Linked DNA regions of Homo sapiens: all the other regions are linked to region 1. The links are contacts of gene promoters, found by promoter capture Hi-C in blood cells and fetal thymus (Javierre and others, 2016). All regions are on one chromosome and are shown on one strand. Each heading gives the region's core, a stretch centred on a gene start or on the middle of the fragment in contact. The rest is flanking DNA. Distances are from core to core; before and after follow the strand shown. Region 1 holds the start of ZNF232 (zinc finger protein 232). Region 2 overlaps DERL2 (derlin 2). Region 3 overlaps RABEP1 (rabaptin, RAB GTPase binding effector protein 1).

Region 1 (2,707 bases), core at 156-2,655:
GTAGACATTCAACAAATGATAACTATTTTTATCCATAGCTCCTACGTGCAGTAATTATCAATGGCACTTTGAAGGAAAAAAGATAATATATCCCCCAGCCATGGGGGTGTCAATGCGCATTTTCAAGGATACTATATCTTGGAGAAACAAATTTAATAATCTGAGAATCTGAGAACTGTTACTATGGTACTACACAGTTGAACAACAATTTTTCTTGGAGAGACTAGGATTAAGCTATTTTATAAAAGTATTGAGAGACTGGATCAATCAATATCCTGCAAAATTGATAGTGAGATAAATTTATTTTTAATTAATTTTTTTTTTGAGACGGAGTCTCACTCTGTCGCCCAGGCTAGAGTGCAGTGGCACAATCTCAGCTTATTGCAACCTCTGCCTCCCGGGTTCAAACGATTCTCCTGCCTCCTGAGTAGTGGGGACTACAGGCGCCCGCCACCACGCCCAGCTAACCTTTTTGTATTTTTAATAGAGACAGGGTTTCACCATGTTGGCCACCATGTCTCAAAAAAAAAATAAAAAATAATCGGCCGGGCGCCTGTAAACCCAGCACTTTGGGAGGCCGAGACGGGCGGATCACGAGGTCAGGAGATCGAGACCATCCTGGCTAATATGGTGAAACGCCGTGTCTCCTACCAAAAAAAAAAAATTAGCCGGGCGTGGTGGCGGGCGCCTCTAGTCCCAGCTACTCAGGAGGCTGAGGCAGGAGAATGGCGTGAACCCGGGAGGCGGAGCTTGCAGTGAGCCAAGATCGCGCCACTGCACTCCAGCCTGGGCGACAGAGCAAGACTCCGTCTCAAATAAATAAATAAAATAAAAAATAACAACAACAAAAAAACACCAACCCCTATTTCCCCCATCGCAATAAAATTAACCTTAGAATTCTTTTTTCTCCTCCCCTCCCCCTACGCCCCAGGAATTGTACAGGCTAGTGGTTGGGGAATATTTTTTCGTGGAAGGGACCGTCTTCCTTAGCTGTGGCCCTCTCATCAGGTCTGGGAAGAGGTAATTGGAAAATAGAACTCATGGAGAAGTGTTACCACAGGCCATGGACAAGGCCAGAATTTCCCTGACATCTGTCCGCCAGCACCGCCCTTCAGGTACAATTCCACAAGAGACCCCCCAAACTTGATGAAGTCACCCGCTTACAAGGGCTCACTCTCCACCTGCGCAAGGACTGCAATTCCCAGGGGCCTCCAGGGCACCCGGCCGCTCCAGTCCAGTCGTGCAGGCGGCGCGCTCTTTCTCGCTCCGCTCAAGTCCAGGAACCGGTTCCCGGGCTCCCAGCCTCTCGGCAGCGCCCACGCGCCTGGGCCAAAGTCCGCGAACGGAAGCCGGCGGCGAGGAGGATTCTGGGAGTTGGAGGCCGAGGCTGCGACCTGCGCAGGCGCAAACCTGCCCCTGGGGTGAGGGCTGTAAGTGGCGCGATTCGCGGCAGCGCCCCGATGGAACCTCCTGGTCCTGTGAGGTGAGTGTTGGCGGCGGCTTCCCCGAGGTCCACCTGGCGGCTTGGCTTTTGCCCGTCCCGCAGGCAGCGGCGGCTCTGCAGTGAGCAGGCCTGGCAGGCAGCTCCGCGGTTGTGTGTGGAGAGGGGTTTGGGTTGCCCGTGGTGCCCGCGCTGCGCTACCTGCGTTGCGTCGCGTCACGTGCCGTGGAGGGGGGTCTTGATGTTCCTCTTCTCTTTTCTCGAGACCCTTGGGTAGGGAGTGAAGGGTGGGAAGGGGAGTTGTACCTGGCCTGGACGACAGCCCCCTCCCCGGGCGGGCACCTGCCCGAGGCCGGGGTAGAGAAGTTTTGCTGGGGCCAGCGGCGCCGGGCATCACCCTGGGAGACGCGAGCTCCGCGTTTTTCCTCGCGCCTCCTTTGTCTTAGGCCAGCGGTCCCCCTTTGTGCTCCTTTCGTGGCCTCTGATGCGTTCCACCTCCTTCCCTGTGTGAAAGGAAAATAAAATCTCAGGACCCCAAACTTACTATGACAAAGGGAAAAGTTAAGCTTGGAAACTGAGTCACGGAAAAAAACTGCTTTTCCTTTTGTTCCTAAACCGATAGCTGCAAGATAGAAAGCAACATATGCCCCCAGGTGGCCTCCCTCACCCTGGCAATGGAAACGAACAGCCGAGCTTCACCGGACAAGACTAGAAATCGTTCCTCCACCCACCCAGAGACAAAGCATATTTGACTTCTTCCTCTACTGTATGTCTACCTTATCTTGTGTAAAATGCAGATTTACTGAGCACGAGACAAATTCATAATTGACTTCCTCTTTTCACGTGCAACATGTGGATTCAGTGAGCTCTAATCAAATCCTCACAAGAATGTGGCCACTTACCTCACCACATACCCTCCCTCTTCTCTCCTCCTTCCCCTCCTGCCAGCTTTCTCCCCATTAAATTGAAGCCCTCAAAACCCTCTTTGGTAAAAGTGCGAGCCACGGATCCTACTGTGGCTTGTGTGTCTTTTTCCTGGGTGCATCCTCAACCTTAGCAAAATAACCCCTAAATTGGTTGAGACCTATCTCAGATGCTTTTTTGGTTTACACCTGTTAGATTTCCTTGACGCAGGCCACTGTACCCGAGACTTGTTCATAGCTGCCCCTTAATAGGGCTTTGGCATTTGAATGAGATCCAGCTCCTTAAAGGGGACTTATATTTTTCTTTTGCTGTAGCTACTACTTCAGAAATTTTTGAAAGCAG
Region 2 (2,707 bases), core at 150-2,649, 360 kb before region 1:
TCTTTTAAATTCTGATAATGTATTGTAGCCCTCCTGCGTAGATCTGAGCTCAGAACAGTTTACACAGCTGTTCTTCCTGTGTCTTCACAACTTTTAACTGGATTTCATTTCAGGATTGGAAATACGTGGCTGTCATGCTGTGGTTGTGTACATCTTACTAACTCAGAATGCAAGATTCAGCAGGAAGATGATTTATTTCTGTCATCTGGATAGGTTGTTTTGCATCTGGGTTTTGCCAAACTTTGTCAGACAACATGAAAAAAAAGGAGGGAGGATGGTTCTTGTAGCAGTAGGAATTCAGCTATAGGAAAGTCAGCTGTAAGCTAATGTGGCATCTTATTTGCTTTACTTACATTTCTCCATTAAGAAGTATCCAGGGAAAGATTGGTAAGGGCCACATTTTTGTAAAACTAGGAAGATTTTCATTAGACTTTTTTTTTCTTTTATTTTTAAAAAAGTTTTAATTAAAAATTTTTTTTTAAATACAGATGGGGTCTCACTGTGTTGCCCAGGCTGGTCTTGAACTCCTGGACTCAAGCAATCCTCCCACCTCAGCCTCCCAAAGTGCTAGGATGACAGGCATGAGCCACCATGCCCAGCCATTTTTTTTTTTTTTGCCTTTTTTGTTTTGTTTTGTTTTTTGTTTTTTTAATTAAAAAAAAAAAATAGAGACAGGGTCTCAGATTTTCATTAGATTTGGAAACCAAGTTAGAATGTTGACTTTGGAGCCAGACGAACAGATACCAGTTAGCTAGGCATATGTTCTTCCAGGGTCTTTGGCTAGTTAACATTAGTCATTTGCTTCGTGAAAATTCAAGAACCTTTTCAGAGCCAAGTACCTGGATTACCTTCCCAATCAGGTAGAAATTAGACAGGGTCCACAGAAGTAGACACTTAATGCTGTGGTTCAATAAATACTTCCCCTAAATATTAAGTCTTCCCTGAGTCTCAGCAGGTTTGCATTCACACTGCTTAAGTAACTTCCAGAACCTGGAAGAGTCGAAAGAGCACCCCTAGGAAAGAGATGATTCCAAACAGCTTTCATTAACGGCATGTAGGCACAGGTCCCTTTCCCAAAAGTGGATTGTTAGTAGTAGTTCATTCAACCTTTGTTAAGGGGTAGCTTTCCAGAATGTGACATTGTCCTCAGAAAGATAGACATAGGCTTAAACATAATGGACATCCTAAATAGGAATTTTCAGATTGTTTTTGAAGTGAAAAGTGTTTTAATGTCTTTAAATGGAATTGCATAACTAATGGTATTTAAGTATTTTACATGTTGCTAATAACTTTGAATATGATTGTTGCAATTTTATGGAACCTGGGTCTATGGGACTGCTTTTTAAGCAGTTTAAAAAAGGTTTTCAAAGTTTAAAAGCCAATCTTAGCATGTATAATCCTTATGGGATTCTTAAGTTTTATCCTATCTTGTTTTTGCTCAAGAACGCTTTATCAGTGACGTTTGTTAGAATTTTGTTTTTTGTTTTTTTTTTTTAAATTGTTTTTGGGCTAGAAATGAGTTTCTCTAGTTTTATTTGTTCTCCCTGAGTTGGAGTTATGCAATGAATGGCATTTTTGTGGTAAAATACTAATCCTAAAATCTGTTAACTCACTGTTCATTTAAGTAGGGAATATCTGTATACATTAATGACTAGGTAAAACAGGAAATACATTTTGAATATACAGCCTAAAGGCAGGCAGTTACAGGGTTTTTGATTTCTCCGATTTTATAGGGTGCAAGTTCCCAGTGGCAGGATGCCCTGCTGTGTGACTGACTACACTGTGTCCTGAGCAGTGGTAATTTCAATCACCTCTCATCAGTTTGGCCAGCCCTACAACCACCATTCCTAGCCCTGTGTTGCTTGACAGGATACCTGTGCTTGAATGGACATAAGGAAAAGTCCTTACTTTCTCCCCAATTTACCTCTCAATCTTAGTTCTTCCAGAACACACTTCCCTTTCACAATGCAAATAAACTGAAAGTGAGATTTGATACATGGAATTTTGAGACCAACCAACTAACCTTACACATAATTTGAGGGATTCCTGGATTCTTCTAGTGATACTGAAAAGCACACTTGACTAAAGCATAGTGTTTTTTGTTTGTTATGGAAATACGGTATACGTTCATTTAAAAATAAATGGACATACAAATTGCATCTCCTTAGGAGATACATTTTATATACATTTCGGTGCGTTTTTTTCCAGTATGGATTTCTATTTGTTTCTCTCTTCCTCTTGTTTTTTCTGTGTCACTCTTGTATGTCCTCATATCTTTCATACCTCTTGTGTAGTCTCTAGAAGCAGAACACCTAAGTCCTGGGTCTGGATAATGAAACCCTCAGTCTCTGGGGCCTCTGAAAATAAGGAAGCATTGGAGCTATTGCCATGTTGAGTAATGGGCTTCCTAGAACTATTGTCATCTATCCTGCCAGTGTTTTATGTTGTAGCTGTTTTTCTTTGACAGGTGAGTTCCAGCTATGTTGTTAGTCATGATCCTGCCATTATTTTCTGTGTTCTGTAGGATGTCTCCAGGCTACTTAAACATATTTTATGAGTTTGCAATAAAATTGTTGAATCTTGTATGATCAAGTCACTCCTCTGCTCAGAAATCCACAGTGACTTCTTAGTAAGCCCCTACATTATATGCATACTTGTTTTTTTCTTAACTTTACTCCCACTTCTACCTAACAGGGACCTCAACTTA
Region 3 (2,707 bases), core at 1-2,500, 270 kb before region 1:
TTCAGAAACACCAGATTCATGAATTATGAGCTTGTGATTATGTTTCTCCTAATTAGTAGAGACCTTAAATTGAGATGTTTGCTTGCCTTTTCTAAAGGATGAAAAAACTACTTCACAGTTTTCACTCTGAGCTCCCAGTTCTCTCTGATAGTGAGCGAGACATGAAGAAAGAATTACAGCTGATACCTGATCAACTTCGACATTTGGGCAATGCCATCAAACAGGTAGGAATAGATCCAAACTAGCTAAATTTGGTAATTTTTCTTAAAGCACTTATTCTACAGAAAATTTTACAAAAATGTAAAAAGAACAGATTCAAATAGATACTGTGAAAATGTGTGGCAAACCACTGCCAAAATATCTATTATTTTAATACTTAAGGTTACTATGAAAAAGGATTATCAACAGCAAAAGATGGAGAAGGTGTTGAGTCTTCCAAAACCCACCATTATTCTCAGTGCCTACCAGCGAAAGTGCATTCAGTCCATCCTGAAAGAGGAGTAAGTAAATACTTCCAATCAGCTATTATCGTGAGATAGTTTTTCCTTTACAGTATGCCAGAATCAACCTGTCTTAATAGAAACCTGAATCTTGGTATTTGCATGTCAAGTAATTACTGGGATGAGAGCCACATGATACATAGGGACTTAAGAAATGACTATGGTGGGAGGATTGAAAGGGATGACCTTCTAGTAACATGATTTTGTTGTGTGGCCAAAGGTATTTTACAGTAATTATGTTCAAAAATATTTCCAGTACTTGCACCGTTTGCCACCTTAAATGAATAGTGAACACTATTGCTATCCACCTGAAACCTTCAGCTGTTAATTTTAGCAAAGCAGTTCTTAGATGTTTCAACATTACCAGTTTAAATTCTTAAGAATCCATATAAATGGTTTATTATAATTCCAAAAGTGAGTGACTTTACAATTTTACAGGGGTGAACATATAAGGGAAATGGTGAAGCAAATCAATGATATCCGCAATCATGTAAACTTCTGACACCACCAGGAGCTGACTCACACCTGAACTGAACACCATTGAAGGCTTAAACCCATATTGTAAAACAGGTAGAATTATCTAATTTATAAAAAGGTGTTTTGATGACCTTTGGTGTGGTTCATCTTTTTAAATATGTTGTTTTATAATAATTGAGTAAATGCTTTTATTTAAAATTTGGAATGTGCTTTATAACTCAAGCCTACAGTTGTGTTCAGCAAGGACTCAGGATTATTTCACACTGCACACTGCCAGAACCTCCCTGAACCCTATTGAGTTTTCTCCATATTTGAGCAAGTTAGTTATTCTTGTGAGCTGTGTTTTAAAGTAGCAGCACCAGAAACATGACTCTGAAGAGGGATAGAACCCTAGGATTCAAAGGAGAAGACCACACAGTGTACTTGGCAGCAGCTTTTTTAATTTGAACACTTTCTTCTTGAGGACACACCTTCAGTACAGTTAACAAATGGTTACACCTGAAATCTGCTGAGAGCAGAGCTCAAGATCCACAATTGCAAAGGCCACTGCTGGCTCACTTCCTCACAAGCTGTATTACCTTTCAGAGCTGAGTGAGGCTGTGCTCTACGTCCCAATACTTGTTACTGAGTGGACATGAGGTGCAAGTTTAGCACCTTAAAGGGAGAAAAAAATAGGTTAGTATGCAGAATGTGATTTTGTCCTCACTTCACCTTAAGTCATCTTTTTACACTTGCCAATGTGAGTTCTGAAAGGTACTACTATATCTGCTTAGAAATGGCTGAGTGACTGTCAATTAAAAGCCACATGATAAGGTAGGTTACAGGTAAGAGGTAAATCAGGTTAGACATGCATGAGAACATGTAGGCACAGACTGAATATAAGCACAGGAACACTCGTGAAACCCAACTGAGCTTTTCTTTTGCCTAGAAGGGCTAAATCCTGCCTTCTACATCAGTTCCCATTTATGCTGAAAACCCAGTTGAAAGAATTGTTTCCTACCTGGACAGTGACACAGTAGTTTGTTTCATACCAGAAACACATTGCTAAACAAAACTTAAGAGTCTCAGTTTGGGTTTTTCTACAATAAAGTGAATTCCAACAGTTGGCATTTGCCACAGTAGAGACCACTAACCATTCCCTAATTGTGATGATTTTATTACCCAGCACCATCTTCTGGAGAAAAATATCTGTAAGGTGCTCAGTCTCAGCAGAACACTTCACTGCAAGCTCTAGTTCAGTCAGTTCAGAAAGGCTGTGAATTGCCCACCCTGATTTACAGCACTAATTTTAATAATCTGAAGACAAATTCGCTTGGGGCTTATCCAAGGGACTAGTCTTAAACCTACGTAATTTAAATTGATTGCATTTTATAATTAATAAAATCCCCTGTAACTCAATAGTTATATGTTTCCTTTATCTAAACCATGTAGCACTCTTTATAAAGGGACTTTAAACCAATTAAAATAATGTTTCATGTGCGGCAAGCCTTTAGTACTATTTCCATAATTGGTATTTATTTTTAAATTCATAACCATGAATGCAAGACTACAATAATAACCCAAGAGATGAGGTATGTAGTACTTATCATTTGTCCTATGGAAGACAGAAGTACAGAAGATCTTTAGGGTAAGTCCATAGTGACCTCATTTATAACAAAGACAATTCACTTTAAGTTGATGGTGGCGTTATGTGAACAAAACAATCTACCTAGTTCACTAACTCCCAGAAG

The links. Contacts are between HindIII fragments. The CHiCAGO score rates a contact against its expected background, and 5 or more counts as called.
Region 2: a fragment that was not itself captured here is called in contact with the fragment with the promoter of ZNF232 in region 1 in 1 of 17 cell types (naive B cells); the score reaches 5.0 in naive B cells.
Region 3: a fragment that was not itself captured here is called in contact with the fragment with the promoter of ZNF232 in region 1 in 2 of 17 cell types (naive B cells and total B cells); the score reaches 5.5 in naive B cells.

Annotation. Positions count from the first base shown.
Region 1 is chr17:5,110,576-5,113,282 of GRCh38, reverse strand. ZNF232 (zinc finger protein 232) reads left to right here and starts at 1,405. Exons shown (of 4, transcript NM_014519.6): 1 at 1,405-1,483. The coding sequence starts at 1,461. It overlaps ZNF232-AS1 (ZNF232 antisense RNA 1), which reads right to left and starts at 1,348. Exons shown (of 3, transcript NR_135658.1): 1 at 1,182-1,348. RefSeq lists an enhancer at 1,045-1,094. The HindIII fragment of the contact is 2,670 bases long and covers 1-2,009 here.
Region 2 is chr17:5,471,564-5,474,270 of GRCh38, reverse strand. DERL2 (derlin 2) reads left to right here. Exons shown (of 7, transcript NM_016041.5): 7 at 1-2,707. Among named protein-coding and RNA genes, the nearest start is that of DHX33-DT, 3.8 kb to the right of the region's middle. The HindIII fragment of the contact is 2,819 bases long and covers 1-2,707 here.
Region 3 is chr17:5,384,501-5,387,207 of GRCh38, reverse strand. It overlaps RABEP1 (rabaptin, RAB GTPase binding effector protein 1), which reads right to left. Exons shown (of 18, transcript NM_004703.6): 18 at 868-2,707. NUP88 (nucleoporin 88) reads left to right here. Exons shown (of 17, transcript NM_002532.6): 15 at 98-224; 16 at 382-500; 17 at 939-2,375. The coding sequence ends at 1,002. Among named protein-coding and RNA genes, the nearest start is that of NUP88, 34 kb to the left of the region's middle. The HindIII fragment of the contact is 8,945 bases long and covers 1-2,707 here.